Regions from separate parts of the Homo sapiens genome. Here all the other regions are linked to region 4. Evidence: promoter capture Hi-C in 16 types of primary human blood cells and fetal thymus (Javierre and others, 2016). All regions are on one chromosome and are shown on one strand. The core of a region is centred on a gene start or on the middle of the fragment in contact, and the rest is flanking DNA. Distances in the headings are between cores, read along the strand shown. Region 1 has its middle 28 kb from the start of PCDHB15. Region 2 overlaps PCDHB15 (protocadherin beta 15). Region 3 has its middle 15 kb from the start of SLC25A2. Region 4 holds the start of PCDHB7 (protocadherin beta 7).

Region 1 (2,897 bases), core at 40-2,539, 100 kb after region 4:
ACCTGATAAGATCAATGAAAATCCTGCAAACTTGAGTGGCCTCACCCTGGGATACAAATTCATACAATATGATAATGGACTGAACTAATTATTAATAATTGAATAAGATTCTAGTAATGTGGCAGTGTCTTTTGAGTTGTACGTCTTTTTAAGTAAGGAATTACACATCGGAGGTAGACTGTGATATCATGAATTATGTATTTGGCCCTTGACCTCATTTCCTGGCATACAACTATTAAAATCCTTAGAAACTCCAGAGTGATGTCTTTGTATCCTAATGAGATGACTGGTGGCTGGAAGCCCCTGGGCAGCTTCAGAATTGGGGGCTGGTCACAGAAAAGACTAAGACAGGGTTAAAGGGTTAGGACTTTCCCACCCTGCAACCTCCAGGAAGAGGAGAGGTGCTGAAGGTTAAGTTGATCACCAATGATCAATGGTTTAATCAATCATGCCTATGTAGTGAAGCCTCTGTTAAAACTCCCAAAGGACAGGGTTTGGGGAGCTTTTGAATAGCTGCAAACCTGGCAAACTAGGAGGTTCCTGGAAGGTGGTGTGCCTTGGTAGGGTATTGAAGCTCTGCTCCCCTCCTCTCCTATACCTTGCCCTATGCATCGCTTCTGTATCCTTTGGAACATCCTTTATAACAAACCAGTAAACATAAGTAAATGTTTCCCTGAGCTCTGTGGGGAAAAACAAAGGCTTTTTTCCCCATTTTATTTTGTTTGGTTTTTTTGAGACAGAGACACCCAGGCTGGAGTGCAGTGGTGTGACCATGGCTCACTGCAGCCTCAACCTCCAGGGCTCAAGTGATCCTCCCACCTCAGCCTCCTGAGTAGCTAGAATCACAGGTGCGTGCCACCATGCCTGACTAATTTTTTGGGTTTTTTTTGTAGAGATGGGGGTCTCACTATATTACCCAGGCTGGCCTTCTACTCCTGGGCTCAAGTGATCCTCCTGCCTCGGCCTCCCAAAATGCTGGGATTGCAGGTGTAAGCCTCTGCACTCAGCCTAAAAAATGTTTTTAATGGACATGGAGATGTACCACCCCATCCATCTTCAAGGAGGTCCTTTTGCCTAAGTGCTAGGAGTGTTATCAGTAGACAGAGTTCAGCTGTCAGAATCCTCAGGGATGTCCTCAGTTACACACATCTGCCTCATCTAAGGTCATGCCCTTCCTGGGGCATCCTGCATTTAATGGCAGATCAAGACAAAGGTATGAAGTTCCAGCCATGTTGGCTCAATGTGGAACAACTCTAAAGGTTCATTTTGGCTTCTAAGCTCCTGGTGGGGTTAGCAAGGCTATAGTAGGAACTGCATCATAGTTGGACTTTTCCCTCTGCCTACTTCCTTCCCCTTTTCTTCAACTGGTGGTAATCCCAAGGGTACACCCTAATAAACATCTTTTTCAATAAACTCCATCTCGTAGCCTGCTTCCCAGGGAATTATGTAACTATTGGTAATGGGAGTTGTCTTAGAAAGCAGGCAATAAGATGGGGGTTTCAAGCTGAATCATTTCTCAGCTGGCAAATAAGGGCCCTATAACTAGTAGTAGGTGGAACACAGCTCCTGCCACAAGGTGGCAGTCCAGTTGTTAAAATTTTCACTGGTGGTGAACTGGGATAGTGAATTCCGCTAGTGGAAGAGAATGCATTAACTGTTTCGATCTACAGGGCATTTGAGAAACAGTCAGCAAAAAGTAGCCATATGGACAATGGGAATGTGTGTCTATGGCCAAATTCAATTGACTTGAGAGTAATTAACAGAAATTGAAAGCCAGACATAAAAGCCAGCATGATTCCTAGGTGGAGTAAAAAGAGGCTTCTATTTCCTACAGAAGGAGGGCAGAGAAAGCTGAGGACAAGGCCAGGATATATAACTGTCAGATTAGCTAAGTTCCTGATAAGGTTAACTCCTAGACAAGTCTACTGTGCCAGACTGAGGGCTCCATTTGGGAAAAGATGGTATCCTGAGTCATAAGATGAGAATATAGGGATCAATATCCCCTGCATCTTTAATTTCAAGATTTTCCTTGACCCTGTGAGCCTGCAGAAGTGGTCCACTCCTCCTTATTAAAAGATAGCCCTTTCCTCAAAGATATGCAGAGGCTTCTTCCCTATAAGACAATATATATTACCCTCAAAATCTGCCTCTACCTCCCCTTTCGGCCACTAAACTCACGTAGAGTTAGCTCACAGCATAACCCTGTAGATATGCTAAGCCTAATGAGGGAGTAAAAGAGCTCTACCCTAAAAGAGCTACAAGTCCTAGATAGCATATACCAGCAGGAGCCAGGGGAATGCTCCTGGTACTGGATTCTGAGGTTGCTCAATTAAGGCAGTTGGAGCATAAGATTAGATAAGAGTTTATTGATTTGGGAGACATAGGAATTAACACTCTGACAAGCATTTATATGGAATAAACACTATTAGTATGACTTCTAGAAGCATCAAAAAGTGATGGCACACACTAAGTTAAATCAAAATAACCAGAATTCTCATGGCAGACAGTAGAGGAAGAGATTAGAAAGCCTAGGAAAATTTACATTCTTAAGTTTGGGGTCTTAGAGAAACAGAACCTACGATAGGGGGAAGTGTGTAGAGGGGGTGGCTGTGCGATTTATTATGAAAATCAGCTCACACAACTATGGAGACTGAGAAGTCTCACTACCTGCTGACTGCAAACTTCAGGGCCAGGGAAGTCAGTGACATAAGTCCCAGAGTCCCAGGGCCCAAGAACTAGTAGCCCCATTATCCAAAGGTGGGAGAAGATGGATGTCCCAGCTAAAAAAGAGAAGGAGAGAATTCGCTCCCCCTTAGCCTGTTTGTCTTATGCAGGGCTTCAAGAGATTGGATGATGCCTGCCCGCACTGGTGAAGATGGATCTTGTTTACTCGGTCT
Region 2 (2,982 bases), core at 435-2,934, 78 kb after region 4:
TTCGTATAAGGCCAATAGACACTAGGACCAAGTAATGCATCTCCTGCAATTTCCTCTTTTCACAGCAGGAAAATCTTAACGAGTTCCAAATTCTGGGCTTAGAGGAGCTTCTGATGGTACAGTATGCCAACATCTACTTGTTTTGGATGGCAACATTGTTCTGATTCATAAGGAATTTGAAAGAAAATACATTGTAGAATTAATATTAGTTAACCAAACAAAATTTATTAAAGGATATGTTGGTGAAGGAGTTGAATTATTTGAGGAAAAAACATCTGCTCTCTTGTCAGGACTTTTCTGTCTCCAGGAGCTTCTCAACTTTGCAGATACTCTAGAATGGTATTGCATGCAAAATAATGACCGCCAAGATGTTCCTGCCCTAATCCCCAGAACCTATGAATATGTTATATTGCAAAGAAATTAAGGTTCAAACAGAATTAAGGTTGCCAATCAGCTAAACTTAAAATAGGGAGACTCTCCTAGATAATCTGGGTGGGTCTATTTCAATCAGTGGAAAGGCCATAAAAGCAGAGTTGAGTCTTCCGTGAGATGAAAATAAATTTTGTTTAAGGACAGCAGCTTCAGCTTATGCCCCAGAATTCCAGCCTGCCCCTCCTAACTGCCTGCTGTACAGATTTTGGACTTGTCCAGCCACGTTTCAAAACTGAGTAAGTCACTTCCTTGCAATAAATTGATTACTACACATCTGCTGCCTGTTTCTCTGGCTGAACTCCAACTAACACAGATTTTGATACCTGGAAGTGGGGTGCTACTGTAATAAACACTTAAAATGTGCAGATGGCTTCTGAATTGGACAGTGGGCAGAGGCTGGAAGAACTTTGACAGGCATGACAGAAAAAGCCTCGCTTGCTTTGGACAGAGTGTTAGCAGAAATATGGTGTTAACAAATCTGCTAGTAAGGACTCAGAATGAAGTGAGGAGCATGTTGGAGAAACATGTTGCCTTAGAGAATACCACATCACTTTAAATAGATTGTGAGTAGAAATATGGATGTTAAAGTCTCTGCTGGTGAGGGTGCAGAAATGAGGAAAATATTATTGGAAACTGAAGAAAAGGGAATCCTTTTATATGGTGGAAGAAAAATTAGCTGAATTGTGTCCTGTAGTTATGTAGAAAGAATTTTTAAGCAATGAACTTGGGAGATTTCACTGAGATTTTCAGGCAAAGGGTTAAATGTACAGCCTGTTTTTTTCTTGCTGCTTATAGTAAAATGTGAGAGGGAAAAGAATGAGAGGAATTAGATTGAGAGAAGAACTGTGAAGCAAAAAGGAACCCAGACTTGATGGTTGGGGAAATTCTCACCCTATTCAGACTGCAACAGATGTTAAGATCAGGAGATTCACTGCTAAGGATGCATGTTTTGGAGAGAAAGCCACAGACATATCAGGACAACCTTTTACTAGTGCGTTGAAAGAATCAGGTAGTCAATCATACAGAAGGCTCTTTGAAGAGACTAGGTACATGACATGGATATCTTCAGCCACATCAGCAGAAGCCAGGAATATAGACATAATTACTCAGGAAATAACTTCGAAGGAGTCTCTTGTTTAATAAATTGAATCCCTGTGAAATGCACAGGAAATAAGGTTATTGAGAATGTTTAATCAGCAGAAACACTGCCAGCTTGAATTGAAAGGGATAGAGAGAACTAATTAAAGGAGGATGTGGTACCCCCCTCCCCAAACTCTGTAAGCTAGAAATAGACTGATAAAACTGCTTAGCTAAAAACATGTGCCAATTCCAATGAAAAAGGAAGGATGCATCAGAGGATGGAGCCTGAAGTCCAGAGAGTACAGCTCTCAAAACACAGAGGATTAGTCCCAAGCCTTGAAAGCAGGAGTTTCCCTGGATGTATTGCCACATTCATTGGTGCAGGTGATTTTTTTTTTTTTACTTTTACTTTTTTACACAGTTGCCAGACTAGGTTCCAAGTTGTCTACTTAAAATGTATGAGGCATTTGTCAGAGAAGTAATGAGGTAGGAGATCAGCAGGACTTATTCCCCTATCAGAACAGGACAAAATGAAGAAATTGACAGGAACCAGCAGGTGGTGCACAACTGAAGTGAAAAACCCTGCAGGAAGTAGCAGCTGGTGTTGAAGGCAACCTCTAATTGCCCTTACTGCTCATTAGCATAAGAGATTCCCACCAGCCCCATGACAATTTACAAATGTCATGGCAACCCAGAAGTTACTGCCCTTTTCCATGGCAACAACCTGGAAGTTACTGTCCCTTTTTCTAGAAAGTTCTGAATAACCAGCTCCTCAATTTGCATTAACTCACCTCTTAATTTGCATGTAAGTGAAAATAGGTATAAGTGAGTATAAATACAGTTGCCAACAACCCATAAGCTGCTACTGCCAACTCTGGGTGCACTGCAAAATAGTTAGTCCTGCTCAGCAAGGAGCAGTCCCTTTTAATAAAAGATTGCTGTCTAATAACACCTGATTGCCCTTGAATTCTTTTATGTGTAAAGCCAAAAGGCCTCCTGGGATAAGCCCTAATTTGGGGCCTTGCCTGTCTTGAATCAGTCATATTGTTTTCCCTGGGGTGTTATCAAGGGACAGTACTCTGAACTACTGCAATTAAATTTATGCCATCATTCAATCATCTCACAACTGGCAAACATATGCAAATAACTGAATTTTCAAGAAATATTCCTGGCTAGTAGCATCTTCAAAAGCTGACTTTGGAGAACAGAATCAGAAAGTGAACGGATAAATGCGAGGCACGCTTTTACATCTGGACTTAACGGTATCCTGAGCAAGATGACTAAGATGTTTATGCAGCAATCCAGAATACCCTGCCCCCATCACAGGCAATAAGTAGCAAGGCTAAAAATTTTACTTAGTAAAATTGACTAAATATGGATCCTGAAAATATTCATAAGCAGATCAGCAGTCCATGTGTTTTTGTGGATTATGGCTATTTGAAGGATAAGTTCCAATTCTCCTCTATGTCA
Region 3 (2,884 bases), core at 273-2,772, 120 kb after region 4:
TGAGCTGTGCTAAACTGAAAGCAGGCATAGTCTCAATAAACAGAACATAGATTCTGCAACTGTTGCAGATTTAAGATACCTCTTTGTGGGGCCTTAATGAAAACGTCATAAATACTGGCTGGACCATCTATGGTGGTCAGATGCCCATGGGAAAGGGGTTATTCTCTGATGGAGCCATCTAAAATTGAGGTGCTGATTGGCTCTATATTTCTGATACAGAGAGATATACAGAGACTGGTTGCATTCCTAATTGCACTTTAGGACTGGGCACATCACAGTGACTGTAACCCCTCTCCCCATTCCTGACAGATCAGACTCTGGACCTCCTCTGGAGAAAGTCCCACTGCTGTAGATTTGTGTTTAGATTTCTGGATTGGTTGCAACTTGCAACAATTGACTTACAGCCTGAATCTACTTCCTTCACCTTTTTACTGGAATATTAAGACAATTTGATTGTTAAATGCAGCTGTCCCCAAAAAGGAACTGCTCTTCTCTGGGATGGTAGGCTGGCCACTGGATAAATGATTGTGACTAAAGGGATAAGAGTCTGTGTAAACTTAATTTGAAAAATCTTAGAAAATTCAGGTCATTGTGACCAATTCCTTACCATGATGTGTCTTTCTGCTTAAGTTGTGTAAAAATGTTTTTCTGTGAAAATGCTTTTTTCCCTCTTGCTTATAACCCTTCTGGATGAAAGGCCCTAGTGAGTAGGAGATGATTGAAAATATAAAGTTATAATTGTGAATGGGACACACTGATTTTGTAACAATGGAGAAACCACACCCAGCCCCTGGGAGGCACAGGGAGAGGTTAGGGTGTTAATGATTTTTGTTTTTCAGAACTGCTCCTGGAAGCTTTACCCCCTTCTTGAAGGAGAAGTCCCCATGCTGGCTTTCCAAGCTGCTGCGAGCACTCTGAATTCAAACAGATTGCTGAGCCCATGGTCACAGGTGACTATGAGACGGCAGAGGAACACTTCCAGATGTCACCCACACTTATGAGATGGATGAAGTGATATTATGCATGAACAAAACTGTTTGGAACTGACTGCCTCAGGCAGTCGTTATGAATCTAAGGACTGACCTGTGTTATTTGGACTGCACTGAGAATCCTGGAGCAGGAGGGCCCACAGTGGAAGGTTACATTAGAGGTCTTCTTAACCTTATTGCCTGACTACTGTATGTCCTGCTTGGGGTGTCCTAACAACTGTAAACTCATTGTTTCCAGGGGTACTGTGTGTGCCCTCTGGGCTTATATTTCTTTTGTGGGTACCCTGACTATCATGACACTGTCTCAGCCCTACAAGGCATTCGGATTAACTTTAACTTACTGGTCAGAGATGTGCTGTGCCTGAGTTGATGCCTTGGGCCAGATTAAAAGAAAAAAAAAGGTTAATATAAAAACTAAAGGAGAAAGACACCTGGCTTTCTAAGATAGACCTTTATGGTTAATGGGATTTTTTGTTTTGTTTTGTTTTTTGAGACAGAGTTTCACTCTTGTTGCCCAGGCTGGAGTGCAATGGCACAATCTTGGCTCACTGCAACCTCTGCCTCCTGGGTTCAAGCAATTCTCCTGCCTCAGCCTCCCGAGTAGCCGGGATTACAGGCATGTGCCACCACACCCGGCTAATTTTTTGTATTTAGTAGAGACGGGGTTTCACCATGTTGGTCAGGCTAGTCTTGAACTCCTGACCTCAGGTGATCCACTCACCTTGGCCTCCCAAAGTGCTGGGATTACAGGCGTGAACCACTGTGCCTGTTCCCAGGATTTGTTTTAATTGGCCAAATCTAGAAGCCATGGAGGACATAACTGAGGCCAATAATGTAGGCTGATCTCACCCTGCCATGTGGGATCCTATTGATAATAATCTTTTTGTAAAAAATGCCTTGGACAATGACCAAGTGGGTAGAAGAAAAGAGTTAATATAACAGACCTGAGACTACTAAGCCGTCGAAGGCCCTGCTTACAAGGTAGGCCCTTGGCTTGCATTTGGGACTTGGATTCTGAGATTGTCTGCATCATTTCATAACTGATAAAAGTGGTTTGCTGTGCCTAAACTGTATATACAAACAACGTGGCTTATGCTGAACACCTGCTTTCCTTCGGGGAATCTGGGATTTTGCTACCTACTAGGCAGAAGAGGCCCACATGACCAGTCCCCAATAAAAACCCTGGATTCCTAGGTTTAGGCAAGCTTGCCTGGTAGATAACACTTTACACCTGTTGGTGCAATTTGATGCTGGAGGATTTAATCATATTCTGTGTGACTCCAATGGGAGAGGATTCTTGGAAGTTTATACCTAGTTTCCTCCAGACTTTATCTGATATACCTTTTCCCCTAGCTGAGTTTGCCTTGTATCCCTTTACTGTAACAAATCATAGCCACGAGTATGACTACATGCTGAGTTTTGTGAGTCTTAGAAAATTACCAAACCTGGGGTCTTGGGACCCTCTGACGCCAAACCTTTGTATTTATTCTCTGACAAATAAGAGAGTAAGACACATTATAGTGGAAACCCTGAAATGTCCCTTTCCCTAGCCAAGATAGTAAATCATAAGTAATGCTGCATCCTAGGAGGATTTTTAGAGATTAACACTACCTCCTGAGGCTTAAAGTGCACAGAGGTGATAGTCCTCATCAAATTCTCATTTAATTCATTTGTTCACCCTCTGCAAAAACTAGATAGATTGTTGTGATGACAATGGACTGCAATATACTTACTTAACCAAATGGTAGCTCCAATTGCAGCTGTCATGCCAGATGTGGTATCTTTATTGGAGTAGATCAGTATAACTTTGGCAACTTGGTAGGTGGCTATTTTTCTGGTGAACGCACTTGTCTTAAATTCCACCAGGGAATAAAATCAAAAGCAGTCATCTTCTC
Region 4 (2,866 bases), core at 339-2,838:
ATCAAAATATATCAGAAAACAGATTAGTGACTGAAGAGATAACTAAAAGAGTTTTAAAATGGCTACCTCTTAGAAGGGGAACTAAGAAAAGTGAGGAGGAAAAGGGCAGAACAAGCCTCTTAGTGCTATTTAATTTTGGACCAAGGTCATATATTATTTTGAAAAAAATGCATTTCAAAATATCAGTAAAGTAGAGCTCTTGCAAGTCTCACCAAGAATAAAAAGGAGTTAAAATGCTAAACATCACTAATAAAAATAGGGATACAATTAAAGGTAAATAACGCAATGAAAACAATTCCAAGAAATTTGCAAACTAGATAAAATGATTTTCAAAATAAAATGCAAGTTACTTAAAAATACAAAACCTGAACAGATTAATAACCAAAGGTAAAATGTAAATGGTAGTCACTGATCTACTGCAAGTGAAGTCACCAAACCCAACCAGTTTAAAAGACAAGCTGGAATTAAGCATGTAGAAACATATAATAATATAATTATTAAAACTATTGTATAAAATAGATAAAAAGCTCCCTAACACATTCTATGATGCCAGTATAATAGTTTAATACCAAGGCCATAAAAGGCAAACACGCACTAGGTAAACAACATTAACTAGAAAAATCCTAAAACCATGTTGACACATCATATCTATCTGTGCACTAAAACAATAATACATTATGGTTAAATGTCATTTATATCAATAACTCAGTAATTTAGAAACTAAAGAATAAATGTATTATTTCAACAGCTATCAAAAATCACTTCAAAATATGAAAGAATAAAAAGAAAACTTTATTGATTCAAAAAAGGAATATTTACCCCAAATTGAGATCAACCATCATAGTTGAAGATGAAATGCTAGAAGCACTTCCACAAATGCAAGATTGACCAACTTGCTACTACTAATTTTAAGAGTATTCATTGGACATTGGAGATTCTAGTCACTGAAATTATAGAGGAACAATAATTTCTTATGTAATACTTAAATCAGGTGAAGGATGAAGGTTGGGTTTGGGGGAGGCATAAAGTGTTCCAAGAAATATCACAGGTAAAGAGTTAAGACCTGGAAAGTGGAATAATTGTTTAATTCACAAGAAATTGGGAAAAGGGTCAATTATTCTGCCATATTCACATTATTATTGTTAAATACTTTACAAATAAATAAAATGTCCCCAACCAATATTTGTTGACTTCAAGGAGGAGGTTTCATTTTCTCATATATATTTTTACTATCCATTTTTAAAATAGGAGATTTTCTTAGGATTTCGGTGGGGAGTCAGAGTTTAGTTTCATGCTCCTAGATTTAAGAAGACTATAAATTAATTCTTCTACGAATCCAGATTATCACAGGGGAAAACGACATCAGCTATTACTTACTAGCATTACTGTGACCATTTGAGGATAAAGATGGAATGAAACAGCAAAGATACCGGGGACAAATCATTCTTGTTGCAGAATTCCTTCAATCCGCCATCTTTTTGTTCTAGTCTTGATAACGGGAATAACATCCACAAAACGCAAGGTGGCGCTGCTGGCTAAAAAGAGAGAGAGAAAAATAATTTCACAAAGAAAGGATGTTACAGATTCCAGAGCAAAGAGGCAATCTGAAGAGAAAAGCATAGGAAAGGAAACAGTGGTAATAGGAATTGGGGTAAAATGAGGATCCTTCCCCACAAACATTGCTATTATTCAGCTCATTTCAAAGGATTCCGCTGCTGCCATTTGTGAGAGCCGCTGGAGGCTGAGTGAAAGTCATTTTGAAAGACTGATCCAAAGAAGAATGGAGGCCAGAGTGGAGCGTGCTGTGCAGAAAAGGCAAGTCTTATTTCTTTGTGTATTTCTGGGAATGTCTTGGGCTGGCGCCGAACCGCTTCGGTATTTTGTGGCGGAGGAAACCGAGAGAGGCACCTTTCTTACCAACTTGGCAAAAGACCTAGGGTTAGGGGTAGGGGAACTGAGAGCCCGGGGAACTAGAATTGTTTCAGACCAGAACATGCAAATTTTACTGCTCAGTTCGCTTACTGGTGATCTACTTCTAAATGAGAAATTGGACCGAGAGGAACTGTGTGGCCCCAGAGAGCCCTGTGTGCTGCCTTTCCAGTTGTTATTGGAAAAACCTTTTCAGATTTTCCGTGCTGAACTATGGGTCAGAGACATCAATGATCACGCTCCAGTATTTCTAGACAGAGAGATTTCCTTGAAAATATTAGAAAGTACCACTCCAGGGGCGGCATTTCTCCTAGAGAGTGCACAGGATTCAGATGTTGGAACCAACAGCCTGAGTAACTACACCATCAGCCCCAATGCCTATTTCCATATTAATGTCCATGATAGCGGGGAGGGGAATATCTATCCCGAATTGGTGCTGAATCAAGTGCTGGATCGGGAAGAGATACCAGAGTTCAGTTTAACCCTCACCGCTTTAGACGGCGGCTCTCCTCCAAGATCAGGGACCGCCCTCGTGCGCATTCTGGTTCTAGACGTAAATGACAACGCCCCTGATTTTGTGCGGTCGCTCTACAAGGTGCAGGTGCCCGAAAATAGCCCCGTTGGTTCCATGGTTGTCTCCGTGTCAGCCAGAGATTTAGATACCGGAAGTAATGGGGAAATAGCCTATGCATTTTCTTACGCCACTGAAAGAATTCTCAAAACGTTTCAAATCAATCCAACATCTGGCAGTCTTCATCTTAAAGCGCAATTGGACTATGAGGCAATTCAAACTTACACATTAACTATTCAGGCCAAAGACGGCGGCGGGCTTTCTGGAAAATGCACTGTAGTGGTTGATGTAACAGATATAAACGATAATCGACCCGAGCTGCTCCTGTCTTCACTTACTAGCCCAATTGCAGAAAACTCACCCGAG

Evidence for each region. Contacts are between HindIII fragments. The CHiCAGO score rates a contact against its expected background, and 5 or more counts as called.
Region 1: a contact is called between a fragment that was not itself captured here and the fragment with the promoter of PCDHB7 in region 4, in 2 of 17 cell types (M0 macrophages and M1 macrophages). The highest score is 5.0, in M0 macrophages.
Region 2: a contact is called between a fragment that was not itself captured here and the fragment with the promoter of PCDHB7 in region 4, in 4 of 17 cell types (M0 macrophages, M2 macrophages, M1 macrophages and 1 more). The highest score is 7.7, in M0 macrophages.
Region 3: a fragment that was not itself captured here is called in contact with the fragment with the promoter of PCDHB7 in region 4 in 2 of 17 cell types (M1 macrophages and M0 macrophages); the score reaches 7.9 in M1 macrophages.

What each region holds. Positions count from the first base shown.
Region 1 is chr5:141,271,527-141,274,423 of GRCh38, forward strand. No RefSeq gene overlaps it. Among named protein-coding and RNA genes, the nearest start is that of PCDHB15, 28 kb to the left of the region's middle. The HindIII fragment of the contact is 9,791 bases long and covers 1-2,897 here.
Region 2 is chr5:141,248,661-141,251,642 of GRCh38, forward strand. PCDHB15 (protocadherin beta 15) reads left to right here. Exons shown (of 1, transcript NM_018935.4): 1 at 1-705. It also overlaps PCDHB@. Among named protein-coding and RNA genes, the nearest start is that of PCDHB15, 4.8 kb to the left of the region's middle. The HindIII fragment of the contact is 3,908 bases long and covers 1-2,982 here.
Region 3 is chr5:141,287,634-141,290,517 of GRCh38, forward strand. No RefSeq gene overlaps it. Among named protein-coding and RNA genes, the nearest start is that of SLC25A2, 15 kb to the right of the region's middle. The HindIII fragment of the contact is 1,340 bases long and covers 853-2,192 here.
Region 4 is chr5:141,171,056-141,173,921 of GRCh38, forward strand. It overlaps PCDHB7 (protocadherin beta 7), which reads left to right and starts at 1,589. Exons shown (of 1, transcript NM_018940.4): 1 at 1,589-2,866. The coding sequence starts at 1,781. It also overlaps PCDHB@. The HindIII fragment of the contact is 10,030 bases long and covers 1-2,866 here.